Regions from separate parts of the Homo sapiens genome. Here region 1 is linked to region 2. The links are contacts of gene promoters, found by promoter capture Hi-C in human tissues and cell types (Jung and others, 2019). All regions are on one chromosome and are shown on one strand. The core of a region is centred on a gene start or on the middle of the fragment in contact, and the rest is flanking DNA. Distances in the headings are between cores, read along the strand shown. Region 1 overlaps CIDEC (cell death inducing DFFA like effector c). Region 2 holds the start of TTLL3 (tubulin tyrosine ligase like 3).

Region 1 (4,986 bases), core at 2,343-4,842, 55 kb before region 2:
TTCATTAATTAATGAGAGAACTAGCAAGAAGTTACAATCAGCTCAAAGGAGATTTCAAAATCCCACATATATACAGGTCCAGGAAGAATGATGAGATAGGTTGAGTGCAGCAGCTCTCACCTGGGATCCCAGCACTTTGGGAGGTCAAGGCAGGAGGATCTGTTGAGCCCATGAGTTTGAGACCAGCCTCGGCAACACAGTGAGACCCTGTCTTTATCACACGCCCGTGTGTGCGCACACACACACACACACAAAATGCTGGCAGTGGTAGTATGTACCTATAATCCCAGCTAGGTGGGAGGATTGCTTGAGCCCAGGAGTTTGAGGCTGCAGTGAGATATGACCATACTACTGTGTACTCCAGCCTGGGCAACAGCATGAGACCTTGTCTCTAAAACGAAGAAAAAGAGAGATAAATGTATACATACAAAATTGGGCTTTTTCCCCTGTGGGAATGGGAGGGATGAAATAATCTTCCCTCCATATGACAGAATTAATTTGCAAGTCTTATGGACCAGAGTCATTTGTACTATATAATGAACTTTTCTTAAAACTTATTTTTGAAAGTCTAACCAAATGTCTCAAGAAGCATGAGAATATGTGAGGTTAGAACCCGCTCCCGCTTCCCCATTTCCCCTACTTTCCAAACATCCAACCCCATGTTAATTGCTTTATGCTATTTCAGCCTTATGACCCTGGGTGGCAGGTGCAATCCCATTTTACCCATGAGGAAGCTGAAGCTCAAAGCTAGAGCAGTTTGCTGAAGTTCACCCAGCTAATAAGACTGGATTAGGACTTAGGCCTGCCTGATTCAGGTTCTGTTCTCAGTACATGCTCATGCCAGGCATGGATGTCTTCATGTCCAGCACTCTGAACATGAGCTAGACTGCAGGTGGCTTGGACAGGCCTCAGAGTCTAGAACAGAGTGTCTCAAGGTGCAGAACCATGTTATGGAGATTAATCTGGTTGGTCCAAAGTAGTAGTAGAAAAATAAAAGCCTTATGAAATGAGCTGGGGTTTTGCATGAGAAAGTAGGGAGGTTCCGGGCATCTCAGTTAAGGTGGAATTGCAGGTCCTCGCACTAATCTTGATCCCATCTGCAGCATCTGTTCCTATTTGCACATCGCTCTAGAATTGATGAAATGCTTTTAGTGCTACCACCTCAGTGGTATTCAAATGTTATTAATGAAGAAAACAAACATAATGAAACCAATCCCTTCCAGGCCAGCATGGGAATAAGGGGGTGCAGGGAGGGGGTACACTCTTGTTTTTATTTATTATGTATTTATTTATTTTTGAGACAGAGACTCACTCTGTCACCCAGGCTGGAGTGCAGTGGCACAATCTCAGCTCACTACAACCTCTGTCTCCCAGGTTCAAGTGATTTTCGTGCCTCAGCTTCCCGAGTAGCTGAGATTACAGGTGTCTGCCACCACGCCCGGCTAATTTTTTGTATTTTTTAGTAGAGACGGGGTTTCGCCATGTTGGCCAGGCTGGTCTCAAACTCCTGACCTCAAATGATCCACCCACCTCGGCCACCTAAAGTTATAGGATTACAGGCATGAGCCACCAAGCCCAGCCTTGTGTTTTTTGTTTGATTGTTTTTTGAGACTGAATCTTGCTCTGTCACCCAGGCTGGAGTGCAGTGGTGCCACCTCGGCTCACTGTGACCTCCGCCTCCTGGGTTCAAGCGATTCTCCTGCCTCAGGCTCTGGAGTAACTGGGATTACAGTCACCCACCACTATGCCTGCCTAGTTTTTGTATTTTTAGTAGAGACAGAGATTCGCCATGTTGGCCATGCTAGTCTCAAACTCCTGACCTCAGGTTACCCGCCCTCCATGGCCTCCCAAAGTGCTAGGATTACAGGCGTGAACGCCATGCCCGACCTACTTCGTGGTTTTGACTTGCGTGCCCTCTCATTCCACCCAGGGAAGCTTTCCGCTGGGCCCTCTTCAGCATGCAGGCCACAGGCCACGTACTGCTTGGCACCTCCTGTTACCTGCAGCAGCTCCTCGATGCTACGGAGGAAGGGCAGCCCCCCAAGGGCAAGGCCTCATCCCTTATCCCGACCTGTCTGAAGATACTGCAGTGAAAGCCCAAGTCCTTGGAAGCTTTCCCCAGTGAAGGACTGACTGGGGGCCTCACGCTTAACTGGTAGTGCCCACAAGCCTGGCAGCTGTAGAGCCGCGAACCTCCCCACACCTCCCTCACCGCGCAGGACCCTGAGTGAGGAGGAGGAGCTGGAAACCTGGGGTGGGTTGGCCAAAGGAGAACCTCAAGCTCCTGGCCTGATCCAGCTCCTTCCTGCCCAAGGCAGCTTAGCCCATCCAGACTGGTCCTGAAGTCTGTCCCTCCATTGGCATGAAGTCTGCCCCTTAGCAATCTGGCCTCGCAGGCTGTACTTTCATGGTGCTCTCTACCTTCTGGCCCCCATCCCGGAACATTCCTGAGTGAATTCGCAAGCGCACTAGCATGTGATATTAGGGAGTTTGCAATAAATTATTGAGGCTGATGTATCTTCTTTGCCTGTGTTCTTTGGGGTGGGGTTTTATCTGGAAGGTTGGAGGGGGCTAAAGGAAGAGACGAATCTATTGTCAAAGTATTCTCTTTAATGTAGGATTACAGCTAATGGCACTTTTTCTACCAAAGAAGAAAAAAAAAAACAGCTGGGCACAGTGACACGTGCCTGCAGTCCCAGATACTCAGCAAGCTGGGGTGGAAGCATCCCTTGAGACCAGGAGTTCAAGGCCAGGCTGGAGCACAATAGCAAGACCCCAGGCTCCTTAAAAAACAAAATTGCAGTTGATTTTGAAACTAAAGTCAGCTGAATTTGAGGCTTGAGCTGACCATGTAATTGATACCATAAGTAACAATTTCCTAATTAAATTCACCTATCAGAGGAGCTTCAATTGAGCAGGTGGGATTAAGTCACTCTTCTAATTTCTCAGTGTCCCATTTTATAATAACCGTTTAAGTGGTTAGGTGAAAAAGTACTACTCAAGCTGTAAGGCATTTCTCCATCAATGCCCATCCTAACTTGCCAGACAGCTTATCTTTCATGTTCAGGACTTTCAACCTCGGGATTTCAAAGTGGGCTCATAGGTAGCCCCAAAGAGTAGGAGCTTCTCATCAGTGTGAGCTGGCATTTTCCAGTATTGGACAACTCAAGACAAGCATGAAAGGCTGAACTTAGGCTGGGCATGGTGGCTCACGCCGTAATCCCAGCACTTTGGGAGGCCGAGCCAGGCAGATTACCTGAGGTCAGGAGTTCAAGACCAGCCTGACCAACATGGTGAAACCCGGTTTCTATTAAAAACAAAAAAATTAGCTGGCCAGCATGGCAGGCGCCTGTACTCCCAGCTGTTTGGGAGGCTGAGGCAGTAGAATCGCTTGAACCTGGGAGGCAGAGGTTGTGGTAAGCCAAGATCGTGCCACTGCACTACAGCCTGGGTGACAGAGCGAGACTCCATCTCAAAAAAAAAAAAAAAAGGCTGAACTTGTAGAACTTGTAGGTGACTGTTTTATTTAGTCTGTGACTGAAAGATTTAAAAACTTGGCCAGGTGCAGTGGCTCATGCCGGATATCCCGGCACTTTGGGAGGCTGAGGCAGGAGTATCGCTTGAGGCCAGGAGTTCAAGAGCAGCCTGGGCAACATAGCCAGACCCTGTCTCTACACTAGATAATAAAAAAAAATTAGCAGAGCATGGTGGCTGTAGTCCCAGCTACTCAGGAGCCTGAGGCAGGAGGTTCACTGGAGCCCAGTAGGTCGCGGCTGCAGTGAGCTATGATTGTGCCACTGCACTCCAGCCTGGGCAACAGAGTGAGAGCCTGTCTCTGGGAAAAAAAAAAAAGAGGATTCAAAAACTCTATCACAGCCAGCCGCAGTGGCTCACGCCTGTAATCCCAGCGCTTTGGGAGGCCAAGGCGGGTGGATCACAAGGTCAGGCATTTGAGAGCAGCCTGGCCAACATGGCCAAATCCCGTCTCTACTAAAAGTACAAAATATTGGCCGGGCATGGTGGTGGGCACCTGTAATCTCAGCTACTCGGGGGGCTGAGGCAGGAGAATTGCTTGAACCTGGGAGGTGCAGGTTGCAGTGAGCCGAGATTGTGCCATTGCACTCTAGCCTGGACGACAGAGTGAGACTCCGTCTCAAAAAAGAAACAAACAAACAAAAAACGAAAAACAAAACAAAACCTATTGTTTCACTACTCTTACTATAAAGCCTATTTGGATGTAGTAAATACTAAGGCAAAGGCCTATATTACCAAAGATGGTCTGGGAGCTATTTATGGCAGCGGACCCAAACCCTGCAGCCTATGGGCAAAGCGGCTGAAGCTCGCTGAAGAGGGCCTGCTATTCCGGGCTCTCCTGCTCTTTTGCAGTTATGGCTGGAGGCTGGCCCGGTGCCAGGCTGGCTCCATGGGGTGGGCTGTCTGGCAGGGAGGCCTGATGTTTGTATTAGCACAGAAGCTATCCCAGTCCACCCTTGATGAAGCTGTGGCGGGGCCTACCTGCTCCTTCCGTAAAGTGCTCAGTAACAGAGTTGGAGTGGGGGTGGGAGGCTCGGTATTTGTCCCAAGCTTCCCTCCTCCTGAGATCCGGAGTTTCACAAGTGAATCTTGAGCAACTGCCCATGGTCTCTTGGCATTGAGCCCAGGGAAAACAAGGTTCTTTCTTTTCTTCCAGGAGCTCGAGGCTAATGGAGTCAAAGCAGCTGTGGTCAGTGAACAGAAAAGGCAGCCTCTGATGAGGCTTGGGGGCTGGGGAGGGAAGATTCCAAACAGCAAAGGAGTTTGAGCCTCTGTAGGGCCTGGCGGTCCTAGTGGGGGAACGGCCTTTCCTGGGGCCCCCCGCACAGCCAGGAGCAGCTGTCGTCAAGGTGGACTGTGTCCCAGCCCCTCCAGCTCAGCCTTTTCATCTGTTCAAGCTGGTGCTCGGGAGTGCACAGGATGCCTTTCAGAAGAATTCTAAATCCCGGGGGC
Region 2 (5,041 bases), core at 241-2,740:
ATGGGGAAAGCCCCAGAGGAGGTAGGCAGTGGCCAGACTGTGGAAGGCCCTGCAGGCCTTGGAACGGACTTGGATTTCATACTAAGAGTGTCATGAGCAAAAAAGGCTAACTGAGGGAATCTTTCTAAGCTTGGCTTGCTGCTGTATTACAAAAAGATGAGGGGACAGGATGGAGGTAGACCAGCTAGGAGGCTGTCATAGTTTGCCTAGGAGAGAAATCACAATTACTAAAATGAAGGTGGTTACAACACAGACGGGAGAAGGTGCTAGAGTTGAGAATCGTTTTGGAGGTGGAGATGACAAGTGGTTTTGCTGATGGAATTAGACCTGTGGGTGAAGAAACAGAAAGATGAGATTTCTGGCGTGAGGAACTGAGAGATGGGAAAGACTGGAGACTGGGGAGGACGACAGGTTTGGGCAGGAAGATCAAAGTCTGGTTTGGGACATGAATTTGAAATGCTTGTTAAGTTTTCTGGGTGTAGATGACAGGTAGGGGCTAGATCTACGGGATGTGGAGTTCGAGGCTGGGCTGGAAGGGGCACGGAGAGGGTGCAGCACACTGACTGGACTCAGCCAAGGACACAGCCAAAGGAGACAGACCTGGGGAAGGGGCCAGGGGGCCACTAATGGCTGAGGAACCTTTAAAGGCCGCTGAAAAGCAGCAGCCAAAGAGGGAGAAAGGAAAACTAGGAGCGTGCAGTCAGACAGCCAAGAGGAAGGGTGTGTGGGGCAGCGGTGTCGAAAGATACAGGGTGCCCAACCGAGATCAAGACCGAAAGGCACTGCTGGGTTTGGCTCCCTGGAACTCACCAGGCACCTTGATTAGAGTGGGACATCGCAGGGAACCAGAGTGGAGGGAGCCCAGAAGTTTGGTGCTGAAGGGGTAAACGGGGAGGTAGTTGAAGATGGGTGTGGTGGTTGAGGATTTTTGCTATTGTTTTTTCTTTTGCTTTTGTTTTTTAAGGATATAAGAAAACAGCGCAGGGAGACAGGCTGAGCCGCTCCCAGGGCCCTTTCTAAGCGCCCCTGCCCCTCCTCTGACCTTGACAGCTCTCTCCACGTAGATTTTGGCGTTTCTGAGCCGGTTCATGTGAGACGCCTTGGAGGATCCTCGCCAGAGGACCGGGAAACCTGCAGAAAGATGCGGAATAGGGGCGGGGTACACTGAGGCTGGGCCTAGGGTCTCGGCCTAGGATCTTTTCTGGCCGCCCATAGCCACGCCTCTTTTCTTCCTCCTGCCTTCATCCAGATGCCCACCCTCAGCCGCTCTTCTCCCGACCCCCAGTCCCTCCACCCCAGCGTCTTGTCGTCCTCGCAGCCGCTGTAGGCCAGAGCGAGCGGGCCGCACGGGCCTCACCATCCTGCGGAGAGGGGTCGAGGACCGGGGTGTGCGGGGGGCCGAGGGGGTGGGTATCCGAGGCGCCCTGGGCGTGGGTGCCTGGGACCAGCGTCTTGAAGGCGCCGCTGAGGCGGCGCGCAGGGGCGGGGCTGCCCGCCTGGCATCTGCCGCCTGCGTGACCCTCCTCGGACTGGGCGGAGGCAGGGCCGGCCCATGGCAGCCTCCTGGGTGGACGGAACTCGGAGCGGCGCGCCGAGGGGAAACTGGTGCGTGGCTCGAGCGGCTGCGGCTTCCGCAGCCAGTTGCACACCGCGCCGCCCTCCTGGCGGTACCAGGAGGCCGAGCCCCGGCGCCCGGGCCCCAGCTCCCTCGCGCTCAGGAGCAGTGGCGCGTCGGGGCCCTGCATGCGCCCCTCGCCGCGCTCGCCCTCCCAGGGCCCCTGATCCCGCGCCCCTCCGCGTCGCCGCCTCCTCTCCCGGGAAGTTCCTGCCTAGGCTCGAGCCTTGTCCTCCGTTCCAAGCCCCGCCCCGTTTGCTATTGCCTTGGAAACCATTCCCTGGGCACCATCAGACCGCTCGGGGCTGGTTGGGGGCTGCGATGGGCCCCGGGGCAGTCGAGCGAGGGCTTCCTTATGACCTGGGGCCTCACCCAGACCCTTGATGAGCAGGGCACTGAAGGCGGAAGAGAGCACTGAGCCCCAGTTAGTTAGTGTTGCGGTTCCTTATCCAGTACTTCCTGGTGCCACCGGCCCTAGGGTTTGAGTGATTCCACAGTATTTATAGGCGCTAACAAATGGCCCCTGACCTCATGGAGCTTACTAAAAGCCCAGTGTGAGGGGAATAAAAAGCAAGTAACAAAGGAAGAGAATAGTTTACAGGTATAATAAGGGCAATGAACAAGCAGAGGTGAAACCAGGAAGGGGGCGCATTTTAGATAAAGTGGCGCATTTAAGCTGAAGGTGTAAATGCCAGGAGTCAGGAGTCACCAGGGAAAGGGGAGGAACTGCACTTCAGGGAAGGGACAGTCCCAGCAACAGCCCTGAGAAGGGTAAGAACCTCTGTGCGAACTACAAGACAGCCAGGGTGGCTGGAGCCTGGTGAGGCCAGATCAGACCTGCTGGGCCTGGCAGATGGGCCTAGGGTAAGGTCCTTAGCGAGGGCAGCATATGGGGGTAACAAGAAGGTGCAGAGCACACCCTCCCCAGAAACTGGAAATGGAAAAACAATCATTTGAGTCAACTGCGAAAGAAATGTAATAGTTCACAACAGTTATGCCTGGCCCCCAGGCTAAGACTGTAAGCAACCTTTTTGGAAGCACTGGCAAAATATTATCCTCAAAAGTCACAGGGGAGGTAAGGCTCCAAGATGTTAAACAATTTGCCTCAAATCACAGAGCAGAGGCAGCACTGGAACCCAGGTCTGACTCCAAAGCCTGTCTCTTAAACACCTGTTATCACTCAGGTTGCCTGCCAGTCACAGAAGGACCACACAGGGACAGTTTGAGAGGCAAACTCTAGCAGTGCCCCCGCAGGCAGAGTCGAAGAGTGTCCTGGTAAGAGCCCAGCTTTGTCAGTCACTGGGTAGATGTGCTCTTAAGAGTGAAGGTGGATCCCCCACCTTCCTGTCCAGCTGACCCCAACTCCCCTTTAGCTGATGGCTGGACTTCCCGAAAAGCATGCCCCCCAGGAAAGGTGATTTAGGGAATTTGGACCCTGGGAGAGAGATACATGACAAATGAGGTTTGTGGCTGGCTCACCCAGGCAATGCTGTCCTGTGAGGGTTGTTGAGTGACCAGCTGCTATATCCTATTAGTCACCCAGTTTCACTGTGAGCACCTTTAACATTCACTGCAAAGCTAGAACATAGCCATGTGCCCTGGAGGAGGGAACACCTAATTCAGAGGGGTGGCGAGGTAGGTCACAGAGGTAATGTCATAAAGGAGATGATAGCACTTTGGGAGGCTGAGGCGGGGGGATCACCCAAGGCAGCCGAGGCAACATAGTGAGACCTAAAAAAAAACAAAAACCAAAAACAAAAAAATTAGCTGGGCGTGGTGGCACAGGCCTGTGGTCCCAGCTACTCAGGAAGCTGAGGTGGGAGAATCACTTGAGCCTGGGGAAGCTGAGGCTGCAGTGAGCCATGCTTGCGCCACTGCACTCCAGCCTGGGTAACAAAGCGAGACCCTGTCTCAAAAATGAAAAAAAAAAAGGGGGGGGGAGGAGGGGGGCAATAGCTGTTCCAAGTTGCCCTTACCCCCTCCTCCCTTTAACATCACCTTGTCCACCCCATCAGAAGAAACCCCTCTGGCCATCTGGAGGAATCCCTTTTGAAAGCTCAGCTCAAAGGTTCACCCTTCTTGAAGCTTACCCTGACACCCACTCCTATATTTACCCCTTGGCCCCCAGACTTCCAATATTAAATATGAAACACTTCAGTGAACCTTTTACACACCCAGCCCTTTTCCTGGACCTCCAAGCCTCAAGGCAAGGATAAACATCATGAACACTGGAAATTATTCAACAGCCCAGCCACTGGGCTGGTGGAAAAAATATAGTTCAGTCAGTACCTGTGTAGCAGCGACCGTATCAGATTGTTTATATTCATTATCTCCACTTCATAGACTAAGAAACTGAGACACAAAATAGAAGTAACTTAGCCAAATCTGGCAAGAAGAATCAGGACTCAAACACAAGGGTCTTTTGTCTTTTTACTTCAAGGTGTTACTAAGGTCTAGTACTATCCAATGGAACTTTCTGCAATGATGGGAATCTCTATGTATGTGTTGTATATGCTGTATGTCTATATATGCTGTTATATATGGTACAGTCACTGGTAGCTGTTAAGTTGCCAGTGGGACTGGGGAACTGGATTTTAAACTTTATTTAATTGTAATAATTAAAATTTAAATAGCCACTTGTGGATGGTGATTACTGTTTTGGCACAGGCAAAAGTCTACTCTCTTGCTCACTGGCTAGATTTGGGGCAAGCTATTACATCTCATGTTTGGAACCTCAGTTTCCTTATCCACCAAATGGGAGCACTGTTTCTCTGAGGTTACTTTTTAGCCCAAGTAAGTTCCTTATGTGAAAAGCACCAAAGCTCTGTATAGGCAGACAGAGCAGTTTCAGAAATTAATGGTGCCTGGACTGCAATGAATGGAGTCTCTGGGTTGGGACCCCTGGCAGGAATAATGGCAGGACCAATCATGAGACTGCACCCAGTGGGGAGCTCCAGGCACAATTACCAGCCATCTGGTCTCAGGGAAAAGAAGCCCCACCTCCCCTCCTTTCACACACACACACAGCATAGACCTCATGCAGCCCCAAAGGGGCAAAAAGAGACTTTAATTAGGGGAGGGAGGATCCACCAGAATCAGAAAAGGGACAGCTAGCGTGGGAGCAGAGGAGCCAGAACAGGCAGGAGGAGGGCCCGGCCAGGAAGCTCTGGAGGACTCACCTCGCCACCTCTGGCACAGGCACTGGCACTGACGGACAAGGCGAAACAGCGGCCCCTCTCAACTGGGAGGGCACCCAATGGCCCCTGTAGCCAGAGGTTGCCCGGCTTTTGGGCCCCAGGTCCTAGGCATGACTGGTGGTCACCAATTTGGCCCTTGTCCCCAACCAGTGCTGGGGGGCCATCTTTAGGCAGAACTCAGGAAGCTGGCAGAGAGTTCCCAACACTTATACTGGGGCCAAGGAGGCTT

Evidence for each region. Contacts are between HindIII fragments. The study calls those that stand out against the background at their distance.
Region 1: a fragment that was not itself captured here is called in contact with the fragment with the promoter of TTLL3 in region 2 in 2 of the 25 tissues and cell types used here (IMR-90 fibroblasts and mesenchymal stem cells).

Annotation. Positions count from the first base shown.
Region 1 is chr3:9,864,241-9,869,226 of GRCh38, reverse strand. CIDEC (cell death inducing DFFA like effector c) reads left to right here. Exons shown (of 7, transcript NM_001321142.2): 7 at 1,931-2,513. The coding sequence ends at 2,093. Among named protein-coding and RNA genes, the nearest start is that of CIDEC, 14 kb to the left of the region's middle. RefSeq lists a silencer at 4,848-4,986. The HindIII fragment of the contact is 3,135 bases long and covers 2,025-4,986 here.
Region 2 is chr3:9,806,711-9,811,751 of GRCh38, reverse strand. TTLL3 (tubulin tyrosine ligase like 3) reads right to left here and starts at 1,490. Exons shown (of 14, transcript NM_001387446.1): 1 at 1,358-1,490; 2 at 1,043-1,131. The coding sequence starts at 1,090. All of the region lies in intron 4 of ARPC4-TTLL3 (ARPC4-TTLL3 readthrough), which reads right to left. ARPC4 (actin related protein 2/3 complex subunit 4) reads right to left here. Exons shown (of 6, transcript NM_005718.5): 6 at 4,651-5,041. RefSeq lists a silencer at 1,309-1,788 and an enhancer at 2,269-2,418. The HindIII fragment of the contact is 8,240 bases long and covers 1-5,041 here.